Linked DNA regions of Homo sapiens: region 1 is linked to region 2. Evidence: promoter capture Hi-C in 16 types of primary human blood cells and fetal thymus (Javierre and others, 2016). All regions are on one chromosome and are shown on one strand. Each heading gives the region's core, a stretch centred on a gene start or on the middle of the fragment in contact. The rest is flanking DNA. Distances are from core to core; before and after follow the strand shown. Region 1 overlaps SLC12A9-AS1 (SLC12A9 antisense RNA 1). Region 2 holds the start of SAP25 (Sin3A associated protein 25).

Evidence for each region. The method cuts DNA at HindIII sites, captures the fragments that hold promoters and counts their contacts. A CHiCAGO score of 5 or more calls a contact.
Region 1: a contact is called between a fragment that was not itself captured here and the fragment with the promoter of SAP25 in region 2, in 9 of 17 cell types (total B cells, total CD8 T cells, naive B cells and 6 more). The highest score is 8.7, in total B cells.

The regions. Positions count from the first base shown.
Region 1 is chr7:100,845,839-100,849,754 of GRCh38, forward strand. All of the region lies in intron 1 of SLC12A9-AS1 (SLC12A9 antisense RNA 1), which reads right to left. It also overlaps a transcript of SLC12A9 not described here. Among named protein-coding and RNA genes, the nearest start is that of SLC12A9-AS1, 4.8 kb to the right of the region's middle. The HindIII fragment of the contact is 1,181 bases long and covers 742-1,922 here.
Region 2 is chr7:100,572,629-100,576,607 of GRCh38, forward strand. It overlaps SAP25 (Sin3A associated protein 25), which reads right to left and starts at 1,272. Exons shown (of 6, transcript NM_001348680.2): 1 at 969-1,272; 2 at 669-772; 3 at 478-584; 4 at 232-385; 5 at 26-123. The coding sequence starts at 1,114. It overlaps LRCH4 (leucine rich repeats and calponin homology domain containing 4), which reads right to left. Exons shown (of 18, transcript NM_002319.5): 15 at 3,610-3,695; 16 at 3,243-3,380; 17 at 3,077-3,154; 18 at 1,383-2,676. The coding sequence ends at 2,479. RefSeq lists enhancers at 2,136-2,690, 2,691-3,244. The HindIII fragment of the contact is 23,848 bases long and covers 1-3,979 here.

The DNA.
Region 1 (3,916 bases), core at 82-2,581, 270 kb after region 2:
TACTGGACCCCCATTTATATAATCAACTGAATCATATGGTTACAAGCTGTCTTAAAAATAATCACTAATAAAACCAGCAGAGCCTTGACTATTCTAGGCCGGCAAGAAACTCAGATGAGAAATGCTCTCTATCAAAATAGATTAGCTCTCGACTACTTGCTAGCAGCTGAAGGAGAGGTCTGTAAGAAATTTAACCTTACTAATTGCTGCCTACACATAGATAATCAAAGGCAAGTAGTTGAAGACATAGAGATATGACAAAACTGGCACATGTGCCTAGGCAAGTGTGGCATGGATTTGATCCTGAGGCCATGTTTAGAAAATGGTTCCCAGTGCTAAGAGAATTTAAAAGTCTTATAATAAGAGTTATAATAGTAATAGGAACCTGCTTACTGCTCCTTTGTTTGCTACCTGTACTTCTTCAAATGATAAAAAGCTTCATTGCAGGCCGGGCGCGGTGGCTCACGCCTGTAATCCCAGCACTTTGGGAGGCCGAGGCGGGTGGATCACGAGGTCAGGAGATGGAGACCATCCTGGCTAACACGGTGAAACCCTGTCTCTACTAAAAATACAAAAAAATGAGCCGGGCGTGGTGGCGGGCGCCTGTAGTCCCAGTTACTCGGGAGGCTGAGGCAGGAGAATGGCATGAACCCAGGAGGCGGAGCTGGCAGTGAGCCGAGATCGCGCCACTGCACTCTAGCCTGGGCGACAAAGTGAGACTCCGTCTCAAAAAAAAAAAAAAGCTTCATCGCTACCTTAGTTCACCAAAATGCTTCAGCACAAGTGTACTATATGAATCACTATCGATCTGTCGTGCAAGAAGACATGGGTAGTGAGAATGAAAGTGAGAACTTCCACTATTGAGTGAGTCTCAAAGGGGAGGAATAAAGGAAGAGACCGCCCCTCATATTGTCTTATGCCCAATTTCTGCCTCCAAAGAAAGAAAAAGTAAAAACTAAAAGGCAGAAATAAAATCCACAAGCAGACAGCCTGGTGCCACACCCTAGGCCTAGTAGTTAAAGATCGACCCCTGACCTAATCGGTTATGTTATCTATAGATTATAGACATTGTATAGAAAAGCACTGTGAAAATCCCTGTCCTGTTTTCTTCCAATCTAATTACCGGTGCATGCAGCCCCCAGTCACGTACCCCCTGCTTGCTCAATCGATCAAGACCCTCTCTTGCGCGCCCCCTGAGAGTTGTGAGCCCTTAAAAAAGACAGGAATTGCTCACTCGAGGAGCTTGGCTCTTGAGACAAGAGTCTTGCCGATGCCCCCGGCCGAATAAACCCCTTCCTTCTTTAACTCAGTGTCTGAGGAGTTTTGTCTGCGGCTCGTCCTGCTACATTAATGGAAATACAATGTTGGCCAGGCTGGTCCTAAACGCCTGACCTCAAGTGATCCACCCGCCTTGGCCTCCCCAAATGGTGGGAGTACAGGCGTGAGCCACCGCGCCCAGCCGGGAGATGCTGTTAATATTGAAGTCAAGGCATCAGGCATACAGCAGGACTGTAGTTGGTGAGTCAGGCCATCATATTTACAGATGTGGCCTTTGGCTTTTGCTTTGAGGAGAAAGGCATGTCATTGGAGAATTATGAAAGGTGGCACCCATCGGGAATGGATGTTTACCTAAACAGCACCCCTCTAGCTGCTCAGCTGAGAATAGATTTTGGGACAAGTGCAGAAGTGGGAAAACCAGTTAGGAGGCTATTGTGAAAGCGGAAGAGGTGATGGTGGCTTGGACTTGGGTGGTAAAATGTGGTTGCAGACTGGTTATAACTTGAAAGTGGAGGCCAAAGGAATTGTCTATGGTGTGGATGTTGGATGTGAGAGTATTCCGGTGTAACCCCAGGTTTCCGGCCTGAGAGGACCACAGGAGGAGCAGGTGGTGGGAGTTTGAGTATTTAGTTTTGGACATACCAAGCTTGAGTTGCCCATTTGATGTCCAAGCAGAGATGGTAGTAGAGCCGGGTGCCATGGCTCACGCCTGTAATCCTAACACTGTGGGAGGCCAAGGTGGGCGGATCACGTGAGGTCAGGAGTTCAAGACCAGCCTGGCCAACATGGCGAAACCCCATCACTACTAAAAATACAAAAATGAGCCAGGCATGGTGGCACGTGCCTGTAATCCCAGCTACTTGAGAGGCGGAGGCAGGAGAATCGCTTGAACCCGGGAGGTGGAAGTTGCAGTGAGCAGAGCTCTCACCACTGCACTGCAGCCTGGGCGACAGAGTGACTCCATCTCAAAAAAAAAAAAAAAAAAAAAAAAATAGAAAAAGATGGTAGTAGATTGTTGGCTATACAGCCTGAAGTTCAGAGTAGAGGTCTGGGCTAGAGGTACACCCTTGGAGGCACTATCATATAGATGGTATTAAAACAGATTGGGCCGGGTGCGGTGGCTCATGTCTGTAATCCCAGCATTTTGGGAGGCTGAGGTGGGAAGATTACTTGAGCCCAACAGTTCAAGACCAGCCTGGGCAACATAGTGAGAACCTGTCTCTACAAAATATAAAAAATTAGCCAGGCATGGGTGCATGTGCCTATAGCTACTCAGGAGGCTGAGGCAGGAGGATTGCTTGAGCCTGGGAGATAGAGGTTGCTGTGAGCTATGATGGTGCCACTGTACTCCAGCCTAGGCGACAGAGTGAGACCAAGTCTCAAAAATAAATAAATAAATAAATAAATAAATAATAAATAAATACAGAAAAAATAGAACTATGAGACTGGATGAGATCGTGAAGGGACTGGGTATAAATGTTGAAAAGAGGTTGGGCGCAGTGGTTCACGCCTGTAATTCCAGCACTTTGGGAGGCCAAGGCGGGCGGATCACGAGGTCAGGAGATCGAGACCATTCTGGCTAACACGGTGAAACCCCGTCTCCACTAAAAATACAAAAAATTAGCCGTGCGTGGTGGCGGGAGCCTGTAGTCCCAGCTACTTGGGAGGCTGAGGCAGGAGAATCGCTTCAACCTGGGAGGCAGAGCTTGCAGTGAGCCGAGATCGTGCCACTGCACTCCAGCCTGGGTGACAGAGCTAGACTCCATCTCAAAAAAAAGGAAAGAAAGAAAGAAAAGAAAGAAAGAAAGAAAGAAAGAAAGAGCTAGGATAGACAACTAATATAAGGAGAGTTTTTTTGTTTGGTTAGTTTTTTGTTTTTTTTTTTTTGAGATGGACTCTTGCTCTGTCGCCTAGGTGGGAGTGCCTGAACCTCCCGAGTAGCTGGAATTACAGGCGTGTACCACCAGGCCCAGCTAATTTTTGTATTTTTAGTAGAGATGGGGTTTCACCATGATGGCCAGGCTGGTCTTGAACTCCTGACCTCAAGTGATCCTCCTGCTTCGGCCTCCCAAAGTGCTGGGATTACAGGTGTGAGCCACCGTGCCCAGCCTTCACTTCCCTTCTTACCTAGCTTAAATGTCTTTTTTAAGTGGGGTCTTGCTCTGTCAACCAGGTTGGAGTGCAGTGGTGCGATCACAGCTCACTGCACCCTCAACCTCCCAGATTCACTCTAAACTGGGCTAGGCAGGCCTGGCAAGGCAGTGGGATGTGGAGGGAGTGGAACACAACATTGAGACCCAGTCAAGAAGAGGACCCAGGGCGGGTGCGGTGGCTCACACCTGTAATCCCAGCACTTTGGGAGGCTGAGGTGGGTGGATCAACTGAGGGCAGCAGTTTGAGACCAGCCTGGAGAACATGGTGAAACCCTGTCTCTGCTAAAAATACAAAAACTAGCCAGGCATGGTGGCAGACACCTGTCATCCCAGCTACTCCAAGGCTGAGGCAGGAGAATCAGTTGAACCTGGGATGCGGAGGGTGCAGTGAGCTGAGATCGCGCCACTGCCCTACAGCCTTGGGCAACAGACGGAGACTCTGTCTAAAAAAAAAAAAAGAGGACCCAGAGAAGACTAAAATTTAG
Region 2 (3,979 bases), core at 22-2,521:
GACAGGGAGGGGAAAGAGCTCTCACCTGCTGGGGGGCCTTGGACAGGTACAGGGGAACACGCTGCCCCCGGGGCAGCAGAGGGTCCGAGAGGAAGACATCTTCACAGCACACCACCGGGAACCCTAGGAGGAAACACCACTAGGGTGGCGGGCTGCGGGCTCCCACCCCTGGGCACTGGTTCCCAGAGGAGTTGGGGCAGCCTTGCGCCCCCGGGGGACCAAGGGAGGTACCTGCATCTGGGGGCGCCTGCTGTCCATTCCAGTGCCCTGTGGCAGGGGCCACGGGCCTGAGACCCCTGCCCGAGGCTGCTTCATACAGCGGCCAGAATGAGGGGTGACACAGCGTCCGGCCTGAGAACGAGGCTCCTGAGCTACAGTTGGCCCCCTAGGGTGAGGAGGACAGAGCACTGGAGCCTCAGGCCACCGCACAGCTCCCTGAGCACCCCAGCCAGTCCCACAGGTTTGCCCCCAACTCACCCACACCGGCCGAGGTCCTGCTTTGGCTTCATACTTGGGGTCCCAGGGCGCTAGTGGAGTCATCCTCGAGGGGGCCACCTCCCAGGCCACCTGGGGGGAACGGGGATCTGGGGGGACGCTTGGGGATTATAACAGGCTCACAGTCAGTGAGAGGCTCTTAGGGGTAGTAGAGGCAGCAGGGCCTGTCCTACCTGGGGCTCCGGGGGGCTGCTCAGTGGCCGGGCCTGGCAGGTGGTGGGGCAGCAGCAGCTGCTCTCTCCAGATCCAGGAAGGGCTACGGGATGGGGGCTGTGGGCTGGAGGGGCAGGGACTGAGGCTGCAGCCACACCGCCCCCACGCACCCTCCCCTGGAGCCCAAGGGTGCCTGGTGCAAGGGAGACCGAGGGACCCAATCTCCAGCAGGGACAATGGAGAAGCCTCCGTAGAGCGCGTGGTGAAGGCATGGAGGCCCCCAGTCGCTGTCCCCCCACGGCTCCGTCCGAGCCCCTCACCTGTCCCATGGGGGTGTCCCCAGCTCCCTGGGGGCGTCCGCTCCGGCGCTCCAGGGCTCGCCCTGGTCCTTGCCCGCCGGAAGGCCTGGTCCCTCGGGCGCCTCCTCCGGGCCCGCGCCCCACCGCGGCGGCGACCAGGGCAACATTCCGCGTTCCCGAGCGCAGGACGGTACCGCCGTGTCCCCGCCGCCCGGCCCGGCCCTCTCAGCCTCCCTCCGCGGCGCGGCGCGAACGTGCCCTCCTGGCGAACCCACCCCAGAGGCCTCGCGGCGACGCTGGCGCCCTGTGCGTCTCCCGGCCACGTGGCGCGTGCCCCCGCCGGGCTCCCGCGGGCGCCCCCTGGCGACTGGGCGGTGAATTCCGGAAACAGAGGCCCCCCCAACAACCCCGCGACGCACGTGCTCTCAGACACAGTTACACCTGAGGGCCACCCAGAGGGCTTCTGGCTTCTGTTTATTGCGGCTGACACGACACCTGCGACACCCGCGGTCCTTCCACCCAGACCCTCGACCCCAGAGGCAGCCAGGCCGGCAGGCCAAGGGTGCCCAGGCCCAGGCCACCCTCACCACGTGCTTCTCTGAGAGCGCGGAGCCCAGGCGCGTCTTCTGCTCCCGGGGTCCCGGGCGGGGTGGGCCCTGTGCCCCCACCTTCACCCCTAAGGCCGGTCCAGCAGGGCGTGGACGACAGCAGCGATGTAGGGGAGGCCCCTTCCCGGGGCCCCCTCCTCTTCCAGGATGTGGTGGGGCTGGCACAGTGACTCCTGGGGGAAGGGGCCGGGTTAGCTTCCCCACGGTGCCCCCTGCGGCTTCCGGCCTGTGGCAGGGGGTCGGGGGCAGACCCGAGCATCACCGTGCGCTCGGGGCTCGGCGACAAATGAGACGCAAGAAAGCTGTCAGCGATAACAGAAGGGAGGTGACACGGGGGGTTGGCGGACGCTCCGGGAGCATGAGAGGCCGGCATCTCAGGAGGGAGATGCTGGTGGGCACAGAGCCATGGCCACAGCCACCAACACGCGGAGCAGACGCGCGCGCGCGCGCACACACACACACACAGGCAGGGCGGCCACGGTCTGTACAGTTTATACACAGAGATAGGGACCCGGCCTGGGCCCCGAACCCCTACAAATATAGATCCTCTCTACAAAATAGAGATAATTTAGCCCCCCCATAGCAGCTGTTGGGGGGGGAAGGGGAGGGCACAGGAGGAAGGGGGAGACTCCAGCTCCTGCCACCCCTCACGGGGTACAGAGGGCAGGGGCAGGGCCGGCGGGGACATGAAGGCACCGTCAGCACTGAGAGGTGGGGACTCGTGGGGCTACTGGAGGGAGGCCAGAGGCTGGGGGCCCAGGGTCTGGGGGCACCAGAGTGGGGCCTCTGAGGTCAGTGTCTGTGAAGGGGGTGCACTAGTGTCTTTGGTTGGGGCTGAAGGCACCGCAGGTGGGGTCGGGTGGAGCAGGGACCTTATAAATAGAGAGGAAGGGAAAGGGGTGAGGGAGGGCCGATTTTGGGGCCTAGGAACCCAGGAGCCGAGTGTAGGTGACATAGAGCAGCAGCATGAGGACCACGTAGAAGACGACGAAGCCGCCCAGACCAGAGGGGGGCCAGAGGGGCGGTAGGGCCTTGCCCCCCACCCGCTTCACGGCCTCCAGCGCGGTCCGCAGCCCCCGGGCAGTGCCCTGGAGGAGATCCGAGGGCGAGCACAGGTCAGCCTGGGGGAGAGGAGAGCAGGTGGACAAGGACAAGGGACAGACGTCAGCAGCAGCAGCAGGACAGTCCCTCCCACCCCTGCCCTCACGTGCTGGGGCCAGAACCACGCCCACATGCTGACGTGCTGGGCAGGGGGAGTGCAGTGCAGGAGGAGTGCAGGGCAGGGCATGTGCAGGACAGGTGACATGCAGGACAAGATGGGGCCTGCAGGGCAGGGGATGTGTAGGACAGGTGACATGCAGGGCAGGGGGCATGCAGGGCAGGGGGCATGCTGGGCAGGGCAGGGGCAGCCTGTGCCTTCATCTGAGAGCAGACATCCGCTGCAAATGGAAGCCCACCATCCATGCCACATGCTCGGCTGAGTCCGGCATGCCACCACTCTTTAGAAAGCAGCCCCCATACCTCAGGCACCCCCATTTTTCGACAGGCTTCTAGAAAACTCTCCACATTCTTCCGAGCCTTGAGGGCACTGAGTTTTGGCTGGGGTGGGTGAAAGAAGAAAATGTGGTAAGGGAGAGGCCACAGGCGCCCCGGCCCATCCCCCACCTCTTCCCCAGCCCCAACTGACCACAGCAGGGGAGGGCACATGGATGAAGGGCACGGAGCGCGGCCGTAGCTGGTTGGCCAGCTGGCACAGGATGACCCCACTGGCCAGAGCCTCGGCCAGGTCCTCAGGCAGGGGCCGCTGCAGCCGGGACTCAAGGACCTGGCAGTGTAGACCACATAGAGCAGGGGTCAGGGAAGGAGAGGCGTCTGGGAGGCAGGGAGAGTGGGGGGCTCAGGGCTAGCAGGGAACTTGTGCCTGTCCCTTCCTGTCCTCAGGGGAGGTGCCAGAGTGGGCACAGAGGATGTGGAGGGAGGCTGGTCCCAAGGACAGCAACACAAGGAGGTGCCCGGCCCAGGCCCCTGCCCACGCAGCTCCCGCCTCTGCTCACCTGGCGCAGCTGAGTCATTAAGTCCTTCTCATCTGGAACCTGGGGGTACCGCCGAGGTCTCAGGACAGAGTCTGGTGAGGAAGGGCCTAGGAGAAAAAGGGGGGCATGGGGCTGCCTCCACTGCTCACCACTGACTCTGTAGCTGGGTCCCAGTGGCCTGGCACCTACACCTCCTGCCTCTCTGCTTGTGGGATTTTTTTTTATTTCATGGAGATGGGGTCTCGCTATGTTGCCCAGGCTGGTCTTGAATTCCTGGGCTCAAGCGATCCTCCCACCTGGGCCTCCTAAAGTGCTGCGATTACAGGTGTGAGCCACCACACCCGGCTTGCTTGTGGGATTTTCAACGCAAAGGTACAAAAGGTACAACAGA